Regions from separate parts of the Homo sapiens genome. Here region 2 is linked to region 1. The links are contacts of gene promoters, found by promoter capture Hi-C in human tissues and cell types (Jung and others, 2019). All regions are on one chromosome and are shown on one strand. The core of a region is centred on a gene start or on the middle of the fragment in contact, and the rest is flanking DNA. Distances in the headings are between cores, read along the strand shown.

Evidence for each region. The method cuts DNA at HindIII sites, captures the fragments that hold promoters and counts their contacts. A contact is called where the count stands out against the background at its distance.
Region 2: a contact is called between a fragment that was not itself captured here and the fragment with the promoter of GRP in region 1, in 1 of the 25 tissues and cell types used here (liver).

Annotation. Positions count from the first base shown.
Region 1 is chr18:59,216,717-59,222,514 of GRCh38, forward strand. GRP (gastrin releasing peptide) reads left to right here and starts at 3,442. Exons shown (of 3, transcript NM_002091.5): 1 at 3,442-3,688. The coding sequence starts at 3,550. RefSeq lists an enhancer at 2,662-3,276. The HindIII fragment of the contact is 15,677 bases long and covers 1-5,798 here.
Region 2 is chr18:59,158,205-59,164,002 of GRCh38, forward strand. It overlaps SEC11C (SEC11 homolog C, signal peptidase complex subunit), which reads left to right. Exons shown (of 6, transcript NM_033280.4): 6 at 428-628. The coding sequence ends at 481. Among named protein-coding and RNA genes, the nearest start is that of SEC11C, 21 kb to the left of the region's middle. The HindIII fragment of the contact is 5,175 bases long and covers 720-5,798 here.

The DNA of each region.
Region 1 (5,798 bases), core at 2,192-4,691:
AAACTCCATGGACTCTTTCTTCCACAGTGATGCAATCAGAGCCAGGCATAACTGATTATTAAGACTGCAACCCCCAATCTCTCTTGCAGTTAGCTATGACCATGTGGTTGACTTTTTACTAATGAAACACGAGCAGAAGAGATAAATGCTTCATTTTGGCTGGTGTATTAAGAGAGCGGGCGTGCCTCCTCCATCTTCCCCTTTTTGGCACCTGCAACCCAAGCTATGCAGACAGATAGGAAAGTGCTCATCACATGTGATCCATAGACCAGCTGCTCCTCCCAAACTATTTGTTTCCCATCCACAATGAGATAAAGATCTTGTACTAGGACACAAGTCAATAACATCTCTACACACATTGTTTAGTACAGCTGACTTTTTTTTTTTTTCATAGCAAGATGCTCTCGATGAAGGAAGCCGTACATTGACTTGCATTCTAATGCAAGCTCCTTCTCTCCCTGCAGGCCAGCCCTTTGAGTAGTGCTGCTGTAGGGAATGGTAGAGACCCCAGGTGGTGTGAACCCAGGTTTCTGATTATCAATGTGGAACAGAGCTGCCTGCCAACCTGGAACACCTGCCCTGGACAGAAAAGAGAAATAGACTTCTCTTTTGAATGGGTCATTGCATTGCAAGGTCTCTTTCTCATAGAGTTTAGCTTTCCCCTAACTATGTCAGTGGGGTTAATCATATTTACCCAGCTGTCTGTAGTGAGGATTTTAAGAGGTGTATGAGAGGACACCCAGCCAGGATCTACTGGGGCTTATTCATATCAACTGAATCAAACATGCAAAGGTTCCATTCTCTAACTGGAAACAGTCCACTGTCTTTTCTGGTTAGAAGTTTGGACTCAGCCTCCTTTTCCTGGAGGACAATGTATCGATTCAAATCTCTTGAGTCCCATCTTTGTGCCTAAGACTGGGCCAGGCACTGTGGAGGCAGTATCGAGCCAGATGACATGGGTGCTGTCCTTACAGGGTGCTACAGCAAGTCATGTGGCCCAGCCGTAGTCTGCAGGCAGGAAACCTGTAGGCTGGGGTGGCCTTGGAGCAAGAGCTAAGGTGAATGGAGGGGCCTAGGTATCTCCTGGCGTGTAATGGACACAAGAAACAGTGTTGCCTGAATTAGCAGAAGTGTTGTGCTTTCTAAACAATTATTTCTACACTTGAATGTCTTTACAGTGGCTTCCCCTTAGTTTCATGGGGATGGGAGGAGGTGGAGGATTTCATTTGAAAGATTCTAAAATAATCTTGGTTAAACTAAAGAGAAAGAGCATTTTTCTACAACTTAATTTGGAGAGATAAGGGTTTAATGCGCCTCCAAAGATCCACGGTTGCAGAAGGCATTTCTTAGACCTGGGCATTTCTTAGGTTTGTTGTTCATTCGCCAAATACTTATCAAGCACCACTATGATCCAGGTGCTCTGCAGACACACAGAGGAACAATACCAAGTCCCTGTGTTGAAGCAAGCTCACTGTGTGGGAGGCAGCACGCCTAGGGATGATCAGTTGCCTGCCAATGGAACACTTGCCTACTGACAGAGCCTGGGAACGGAATGCAGAGAGGCTGGGAACCCGGGAGGGATGGAGCCCAGGCCAGTCTGTGGACCTTTTTCTTTTGATTTTCACTTAGCTCACTCACTGAGGATAGTATTATTGTATTTGGTTGGCTACCAAACTATTAATGATCTTAAAATTGACTTTTTTTCTCTTAGACCCAGACACATGCATGAAAATACTCTTCAGATCCAAGAGTACTCAGTCATGCAATGTGAGTGTGTAATCACTTAAGAATATATTGAACACCAAGCACAGTGGCTCATGCCTGTAATCCCAGCACTTTGGGAGGCCACGGCTCACTTGAGGTCAGAAGTTCAAGACCAGCCTGGCCAACATGGTGAAAACTCATCTCTACTAAAAATACAAAATTAGCCAGACGTGGTGGTGCATGCCTGTGATGTCAGCTACTCCACAGGCGGAGACAGGAGAATCACTTGAGCCGGGAAGGCAGAGGTTGCAGTGAGCCCAGATTACGCCATTGCACTCCAGTCTGGGTGACAGAGCAAGACTCTGTCTCAAAAAAAAAAAAAAAAAAAAAAGAAGAAGAAGAATGTATTGAATCAGCAGATACTCAGACACAAGTGTATGTTTTCAACTTTATCAATATCAATATATCAATATCAACACCATGTTGACATGGAACACTAAAGACCCAACAGGGAGGCAATTAACAAGCATTTGAGGAGGAATAGACCTCACCTATTCCAACCACACGGCCAACTCTGGCAGCCAAAACGTGGGCAACAGCATCCTACCAGCTTCTATTTATTGTTGCATTGCTATGGTGCTGATCCCCTTTGTATCCATGGTATTTAGAACCTCGGGGATTGGGCTGGTGACCATTCTTTAGATCTGAGAACAGAAGGAGCAGAGGAACGTTGAGCAACTCTAGAGGGGTGTGTATGTGGCAGTTTAGGGACAGTTTGAGCTTTCAGGTAGAGGCAGCCTAGGGAAACTGGCATAAAGCAGTTTCTTTCTCTATTCCATGGAAGTTGCATGCTTGTGAAAAGGGCCAGCTATCTTCTGTCTTGCCATACAAGTGGGCAGAGCTGCCTGGGAATACCAGGTGGGTTAAGGATACTGCCCTTAACCTTAAGGTGGAGGGCAGCAGAGGGGGAGAGAGAGACAGAGAGAGAGAGAGATTGGGGAGGAGGGGAGAGAGAGAGGGATGGGAAGGGGAGGAGAAGAGAGAAGGGGAGTGGAGGGGAGGGGAGGGTATGGGAGTGGAGAGGAGGGGAAGGGAGGGGAGAGGAGGGGAGAGGAGGGGAAGGGAGGGGAGAGGAGGGGAGAGGAGGGGAGAGGAGGGGAGGAGATCTGCAAGAAAGAGGCAAGGTCCAGAAAAAGAGAGAGAGATCTGCAAGGAGGCAAGGTTCCAAAATCTATGGGCTGGGACAGCAAAGATGTGGCCTACGAAGAGAAAGGTCTGGAGAATCAGAAGGCCTTCAAATGGTGGTTCCAAATCCCTCCAGCAAAGCCCATCCATCTTTAGAGCTCACCCGTCTCCAGCTACACCCCCCACCCCTCCCGGCCCAGATCAGGCAGCGGGGTCGCCCTCTCCAGGACTCTCAAGGCAGCTAAGGCTGGAGGCGCCGGCGAGCCTGGAGAGGGAGGAGTTCACTAAATTGTGTTGGATGGAAGGCGTCGAGGACCGGAGGAATTAATCCGATGTGGGGAAGGCGGACGGGGCTACGAGGAAAAAAGAGGGGGCAATGTACACTCAGCCTTTTCATCACTCGGCGGGGAGATGGATGGTTTTCCGGACCGGGCGTCCCAGCGCCCCGGTTAGCTATAGGGAGACGTCAGAGCGCTCTGGTCCGCGATAGAAGAGCCCCCCAGCCCCCCCGCCCGGGCTTCCATATAAAGTAGGGGCCCTAGTGGAGGCCGCAGCAGTAGCACCAGCGGCTGCGGCGGCGGAGCTCCTCCGAGGTCCGGGTCACCAGTCTCTGCTCTTCCCAGCCTCTCCGGCGCGCTCCAAGGGCTTCCCGTCGGGACCATGCGCGGCCGTGAGCTCCCGCTGGTCCTGCTGGCGCTGGTCCTCTGCCTGGCGCCCCGGGGGCGAGCGGTCCCGCTGCCTGCGGGCGGAGGGACCGTGCTGACCAAGATGTACCCGCGCGGCAACCACTGGGCGGTGGGTGAGTGTCCTGGCCGCGGGAGCCGCGCGCTTGTCCTCCTCTGGATCAGCCAGCCGGAGGGGACCTGTCTCCCCATTTCTTTGCGTTTCCCTGGCCCAGCTTTGGGAGCTGGGTTTGTTGTGACCTTTCTATCGGCAAACACCTTCCCCGTTCTCCTAAAACTCCACCCCACCTTTCCCCATTCTAGGGAGCCCATGAGTCCCTAGTCAGCCGCAGGCTGGTCCGCTGATCCTTTCCCGCTCGCTTCCAGCCTGTCTTCCCCAGGGCACCCGAGCTCCCAACAGCCAACCCCGGTGCAGATCACCTTCCCTCTGCGCCCATCCTACATCTCCTTTTGTCCGCCTAGTCTCAACCTGTCTGGCACGGTACTCTCCTAGAATAATCTTGGGGAGCGTTGTCCCTTGAAAGCATCTCAGAACCCTGGTCCAGCTCGGTGGCCTCAACAGCGACTGGCATGGGCTGAAATCTAAGCTGCGCCTATGCTCCCCGCAAAGCCACAGGTGTGGGGACCTAGGGTGCAGCGCTCCCGCCCCGGGTTTCACATCTGTTCAGTGCGCAGTGCCCTGAATCCCGCCTGTCTGTGACTCTCTGGAGTTTCCTCAGTCCTTCTCTTCGCTTTGCAGCGATATTCTTTTCCCTGCCCTTTTGCCCTCCCTCTTTCCAGCCAGCAGGCTCTGAGCTTGGGGAATCTCGCCTGCTCTCCAAGCTCATCCCGATCTCTCTGCCCCTCTGAGCTCCGCTCTTTCTCCGCCCTTCTTGACCCACGACTTCGCCCTTTCCCCTCGCTCCTTTCCCATTCCCTCTGCAACAGGTCCTGCTCTCTAGGCACCGGCTTGGAGGCTCCCTCGCCATGGCCCCTAGAACCCAGGCGGAGAGGACGGCCGCGCTGCGGGTGCGGAGGGCGCCTGCGGGTGGGGTCAGGATTCCGCCCTGCGCGCACTCGCTGCTTTCGCTCAGCTGGGAGGCAGGAAGCGCCTGGCAGCCTCGGCTCACCCAGCATCACCCCAGGGCTCTCGGCGTCGCCGAGCATAGCTTCCAGCAAACGCAGAGCGTCCAACTTCCTCACTCCCCCACCTACCCGCCCCACAAAAGCCAACTACAACAACCCCAACCAGCTTCTTGGGAAGCTGGTTAATCCCTGAAGAGATTTAAGAGTGTGTATGTGTGTGTGTCTCTGTGTGTGTGTGTCTCTGTGTGTGTGTGTGTGTGTGTATTTCCTTAGCCATCTACTTAGAACGGGCGCTGGGGAACGGTGTGTTGAACAAGTACTTGCTAATTCATATATCGGCTGATTCACAAATCTTGATAGAAGATAAATAATTTGGGGGAAGGAGTGGGACTGGAACTGTTGCTTCCTCAGCTCGTCTGTGTCGTGTGTGCTTTTGTGAGGGAAGTCGAGATCTTTGGGCTGCAATAGAGTGGTTTCCACTGTTGCTAAAATAATCATTTGCCAAGTCTTGACAGTTCCAGAGATGAGAGGATGTGTGATCGCTGAGGGACAGGAGGAACCCAGCAGTCTGGTGTGGAGAGGAGAGGTTGGAATGGGTGAAGCTGAAAAACCCTCCATTTCAAGAATGAAGGATGCTTAGCAGGTGTTGAAGAATCCAAACTTAGAATTGATGCTTCTTAAAGAGGGCTTCTGGGAGCTTAGATCAAGTGGCCATTATCTGGCCCAGCCACCAGCCAATGGGGCTGGAAAGATGGAATGAAAGTTCTGGATTCCCAATCTCTTTGTACTCATCTATATTATTGCACTAATAAAGCTTATTATTAGGTAACGCTTGCAGGCCCAAAGGAGGACAATAGAGTTAACTGGGGAGTGGCATCGTGTTATTTCTGGTGCAAGTCAAGCCAATCTTGATTTGCTGTAGTTCCGCAGAACATCTGTCTCCAGGTATTTAGGGTGTCTGCCGTTTAATTGCCCTTCATAGTGGTACTTGAGCATTCCTAACCCAAAAGAATACCAACCAGTGGTGACCCCAAATACCATTTTCATATTTATTCTCAAATGCACTTTTTTCTCTCCCTTTGATAACTGTGCAGAGTTGAGGAGGAGCAAGGGAAAGAGGGAGGTGAAGTAGAAACTCACATTTTAGCCTAAAATTACCTT
Region 2 (5,798 bases), core at 2,057-4,556, 59 kb before region 1:
GCCACCACACCCAGCTCATTTCTGTATTTTTAGTAGAGACGGGGTTTTGCCATGTTGCACAGCCTGGTCTCGAACTCCTGACCTCAGGTGATCTGCCCGCCTTGGCTTCCCAAAGTGCTGGGATTACAGGCGTGTATCCATATTTTTTAAAAAAATCACTTGACAAACAATGGGAAACCTGCGTAGGAGTAAGCACTGCATTTGCTGTGTTTGTTCATTTTCTGATCTTTAGTCCATCAGTATATTTTTGGGTTTTTGACCATAATGTAGCATTGAACAGCTCATTTAGAGAACAAGCCATGGGGGGAAGAGGTAATCTTTTGATTCTGTCCTCAGCGCAGTATTTAACGGACTTCATCTGAATACATTTACAGACCAAATTTCTTTGTAGACCTCACAGTGATTTTCCATTGTGTTTTCTTTCCAGTATGCTCTTTTGGCTGTAATGGGTGCATATGTGTTACTAAAACGTGAATCCTAAAATGAGAAGCAGTTCCTGGGACCAGATTGAAATGAATTCTGTTGAAAAAGAGAAAAACTAATATATTTGAGATGTTCCATTTTCTGTATAAAAGGGAACAGTGTGGAGATGTTTTTGTCTTGTCCAAATAAAAGATTCACCAGTAAAGATGGTTTTCTTTTGTGGACTCTGATTTGAATCTGCTCAATCTCTCTGCCAATTGTGGGAGACTCTACACTGAGTCTGAGGGTCTGCACCACTTCAAGAACCAGGCAGGCTATTTAGGGCCTGGCCTGCTAGTGGGGCAAGGCATGGTCCACATGTATAGTTGTAATGTCTGAGTTTCAAAAGTAAAATTCTTAATATAATGACATTTCTGGGGGGAAACAAAGGGGCCCTTAAAAGAACACAGTTTCTTATTAAAGTGTAATCTGAGAAACTAAGAAAGTCAAAACCTTTTAGAAGGAAGGGATGTAATCTGCTTTGTTTTGTGGTATGATATATCTTGAGATAGTTTGTTAAATTATTTGAAAAGTGTTTAATTATTAAAAATGGTGCATACTCCTCTGAAAAGTTGCAAAAACTCCAGAAGGGTAAAAGTTGAAAATTGCAAAAACTACAAAAGGTCTCTTTCTTCAGTCTTCCCTTTCTACTTCCCAGGGATACCCACCATTAAATTAGATATTTGCACTATATATAGTCCTGCAGAGAAAGTAGACCCTCTTTCAAGTATTTATCAAGCACTTTTACCCAGCCACTGTCTGATGTGCTGGAGGTACAAAGTCCCAGCCCTGACGGAGCTCACACTGGAATAGGAGGAACAGATAACACACGAGCCTGTGATTTCAGGTACTGGTCATTGCTGTGAAGAAAGATAAAGCATGTTAAGCAGATAGAGGGTGACAGAGGACACTGCTTTTCAGATGGAAGTCAGAGGAGACCCCTCCAAGGAGGTGACATTAAGCAGAGTTCAAAGAAATGAGAGGGAGTGGAGCACGTAAATCCCGGGAAGCGCATTATAGCCAAGTGCAGAGGCCCCGAAAAGGGAGCGCTGTTGGCGGGCTAGAGGGTTCTCACACTTTAAGGAGTACACAGCCACCTGTCTTCTTCACTGCTGATGTGGACTCAGGAGGTTTGGGGTGAGCCTGACTACGCACTTCTAACATGCTCCCAGAGGATGCTCATGCTGCTGGTGCCCACTTTGCACAGTGAAATGTTAGAGGAGTCAAAAGGAGGCCAGTGATGTTTTAAAATGCACTCTTCAGTTTTACAAAAATGTTCTCTTTTCACCAAATACAATGATGTTGACATCCTTTCAATCAGGACTTACAAATCTACCTCATTCTTTTACGTTTGTTCAATTCTGATCTAAGAATTTAGTGGCCCTAAAAGTCACTTAACCACCGATGTGGCCTCCAGTGAGTTACTTAACTTCCCTCAGCCTCAGATGGAGGATAAGAACTGCACTTACCAAATGGGGCTGTCATGAGCAATAAGCCGCATGGTCCTTGACATGTCCACAGTATCCGCTCGGTAGACGTTCCCTATTGTTGCTCATGTTTTCCCTTTCAGTGTAAACCTGTGTCACGCCTGTATGGTTAATTTTCCTGAGTGAGCGCCTGGCTTGGTAAGGACCAGCAGGCGTGATCCGCTGGGAACAGCTTGCCCTTTAATCCTTTCTCTCTACTAAAATAGGCTATTGCAACAATAATGGACCTCATCCTGTTGAAATCAGCAAAGTGAAAGAAAAAAAGATTTACAGAATACTTTCTAAAAACATTATTCTCTTGTGCCCTTTAATACATTGTTTTCTTAAGAAAAAATGGATTTTTTTCCCCTTACCTAAAACTGGTATTTTAAAATGTTGGGTCAAAATCATATTATTTTATCATCTTCTTGGGCTTCTGTAGTTAAATTTTTAAAAAACTCTTATCATGGCTAAGCTTTTTGGTAATTCTTTGAACATGCCTAACATTCTGAAATGAGCTTTGCAAAGACACCTAAGAACCCTGACGGGGCTCAGCCAGTGCCATTGAATTGTGGATTTTAGTGACAAAGATGTCTTTTGACCTCCCTGATGCTGTTGGTCCTTATAAAATGGGAGCGATGGCAATTAATGTTGGATTGAAGTTCTTTTATCTGGGGCTCTCAGTTGTAGCCTCAGTGTCTGGAATGTATCAACACGAACCAAGGATGTGTCTGAGCAGACAAAATCAGCACTAGAACATCCAAGCTGCTTGCAGTTTATTCATCAGGTAGAACCTCTTATTGGGAGCTTCTCAGTGTTCATGTGACACATTTCTCATGTGGTTACACAACTGCTTTTCCACTTTGCAACAGCTTAGAAGCATCAGAGTAGAGGGTTTCTGGTAGACAATGGCCAGACAGGTAATACCCACTGAGGAGGAAGAATACAAACTATAAAAAACAGATGCAAGGATTTCAGGATGCTGCCTGGTGTATCCACAAAGGCGACACTGTGTTATAAGAAGACACTTAGGAAGAAGTTAAATGGCGTTTGCCATACTGCATTTGAGATCAATTTAGGTTTTCATCCAGACTGGCAAGTTTCTACTACGGGGTAGGGTGAGCTTCAGTTTTTTCAAGAGGTGAGTGGTGGAACCTCTGGTTGATTTCCTAAGCCACAGGCCTGAGTCCTGCTCTTCTACCCCTTTACCCCTTGACAATTAATATGTTAACATTATGCAAATGCTAGAAAAATAGAGCTCCTGCAGACATGCACAAACACTCCAACAACCAGACTGTGGACACTAATCCGCCTGTCTATTGAGATTTTGGACCTGCCACTGTCCCTGCAAGTCTGGGCAAATGAAGCATTGTTGGCAAGAGGAAGAAGCCTAACCTTTCTAAGTTAGCAAGGTAAGAGAATCTCTAATTTAGAGGAAGCAAACTTGGGCATCTGTTCTTTAAAAAAACCTCCCTAGGTTACTAATGTGTGGTCAGTATTGAGAACCACCGAGAAACAGACGTCTGCACACATTAGTTGAGAATAAATGTGATTAGGATGCTTGACTGTTCACATCTTCCTTCTCGGCTTCATGAAGTTATTTTCAGATTGCATAAGGAAAAAACAGAAACACACTGCATCTATGTGTCATCCTCTCACCACCATTTCCCCCACTAAGATGATGCTAACCTCTGAATGGTCACTTGAGTTCTAGGTGAGCCTTCATCTTACAAAGTAGCCTTTGGCCCAGGGCACTGGGCGATCAACTTAGTCTCATCCTGAGATTCTGGGCTGAGATCCATCCTTTACCACTTGTGTTCATCAGGTTCTCTTCATTTCTTTTCTTTTTTTTTTGAGTCAGAGTCTCGCTTTGTTGCCCAGGCTGGAGTGCAGTGGCGCGATCTTGGCTCACTGCAAGCTCCACCGCCCGGGTTCATGCCCATTCTCCTGCCTCAGCCTCCCGAGTAGCTGGGACTACAGGCACTTGCCACCATGCCCAGCTAATTTTTTATATTTTTAGTAGAGATGAGTTTTCACCGTGTTAGCCAGGATGGTCTCAATCCCCCGATCTCGTGATCCGCCCACCTTGACCTCCCAAAGTGCTGGGATTACAGGCGTGAGCCACTGCACCCGGCCAGGTTCTCTTCATTTCAAATGAGGAGTATGGGGTGGGGTAGGATAGAAGGAGGAGTTGGGAGTCACACAATGATTTAAGCCCTGCCTCAACTTACCAAACAGGGAATCTTTAACAAATTCAGACTCAGTTTCCCTATCTCCAGAATTAGCATCAGGGCAGGTCAAGAGTTTATTGGATGCCTGGATTTAATCAAACAGAGCTTTACTATTTCTTCTTCAAGGTCACTTGAGTTTGAGCACTTAGAATTAATTAAAGCCTCCCAATCCTCTTGAACACTCTTCTCTGTTGTCTGTGGTCATAAAATTCTACTCAGATTTTCTCTGAATTTTAAATCTGCCCGCCTAGATTGTTGCAGACATATCCTATGGCAGGGACATTTTTTCCCCAGGGACCTTGCTTTTAGCTGCATGAAGCTTCAGGATGGTGCAGGGGGACAGAAACCTCTTTTACACTGAGTCTTGTTTCTGCGCCAGTTCTGTGCCGGCGGGGAGCGAACGCTACCTACACACGTGCTGTGGCCAGGCCTTCTTCTGTAGGATTCCCTCTGGCCTCCCTCTGTTCTTCATTCCATCACCCAAACACTGTCTGTCATCTGCCTCTTCTCAGGTTTAATGATTTCCCTACTAGTGTTTAGCTTCTGCCATACTGCAGGATATTTTCTTTAATAGGCCTTATTTTTTAGAGCAGTTTTAGGTTCATAGCAAAATTGAATGGCAAGTATAGAGGTTTCCCATATACCTCCTACCCCTACATAGGCACAGCCTCTACTACTACTTACCACCCCACTAGAGTGATTCATTTGTTACAATCAATGAACCTACACTGATGCATCATTATCACCCAAAGTCCATAGTTAACATTGAGATCCACTCGTCGTGCTATACATTCTATGGATTGGGACAAATGTGTAATGACATCTATCCTCCATCATAGCACCATACGGAATAGAGTCATGGCCATAAAAAATTCCCTATGCTTCACCTATTCAGCCCTCCCTACCTTCAACCACCGATTATTTTTACTGTCTCCAGAGTTTTCCCTTTTCCAGTATGTCATATAGTTGGAATCATGGTATGTAGCCTTTTCAGTTAGGCTTTTTTTTTTTCCACTTAGTAATGTACATTTAAGTTTTCTCTATGTATTTTTTCTTTTTTTGTTTGAGGCAGAGTCTTGCTCTGTCACCCAGGCTGGAGTGCAGTGGCACAACCTCAGTGGTGCGGGTTTTTGTATGGACATCAGTTTTCAGACTCACTTGGGTAAATACCAAGAAACAATCCACGATTGGTGGATCATATGGTGACTGTGTCTAGTTTCGTAAGAAACGGCCACACTGTCTTCCCAAGCAGGTGTACCATTTTGCATTCCCACCAGCGATGAATCAGCTTTTGTTGCTCTACATCCTCTCCATAATTTGGTGTTCTCAGTGTTTTGGATTTTGGCCATTCTAATAGGTATGTCATGGTAGCTCATTGTTTTAATTTGCATTTCCCTAATGACATATGATGTTGAACATCTTTTCATATTTATTTGCCATCTGTATACCTTCTTTGGTGAGGTGTCTGTTCAGGTCTTTTGCCCTTTTTTTTGAGACAAAGTCTCACTCAGGCTGGAGTGCAGTGGTACCAAGTAGCTGGGATTACAGGTGCCTTCCACCACGCCCGGCTAATTTTTGTATTTTTAGTAGAGACAGGGTTTCACCATGTTGGCCAGGCTGGCCTCAAACCCCTGACCTC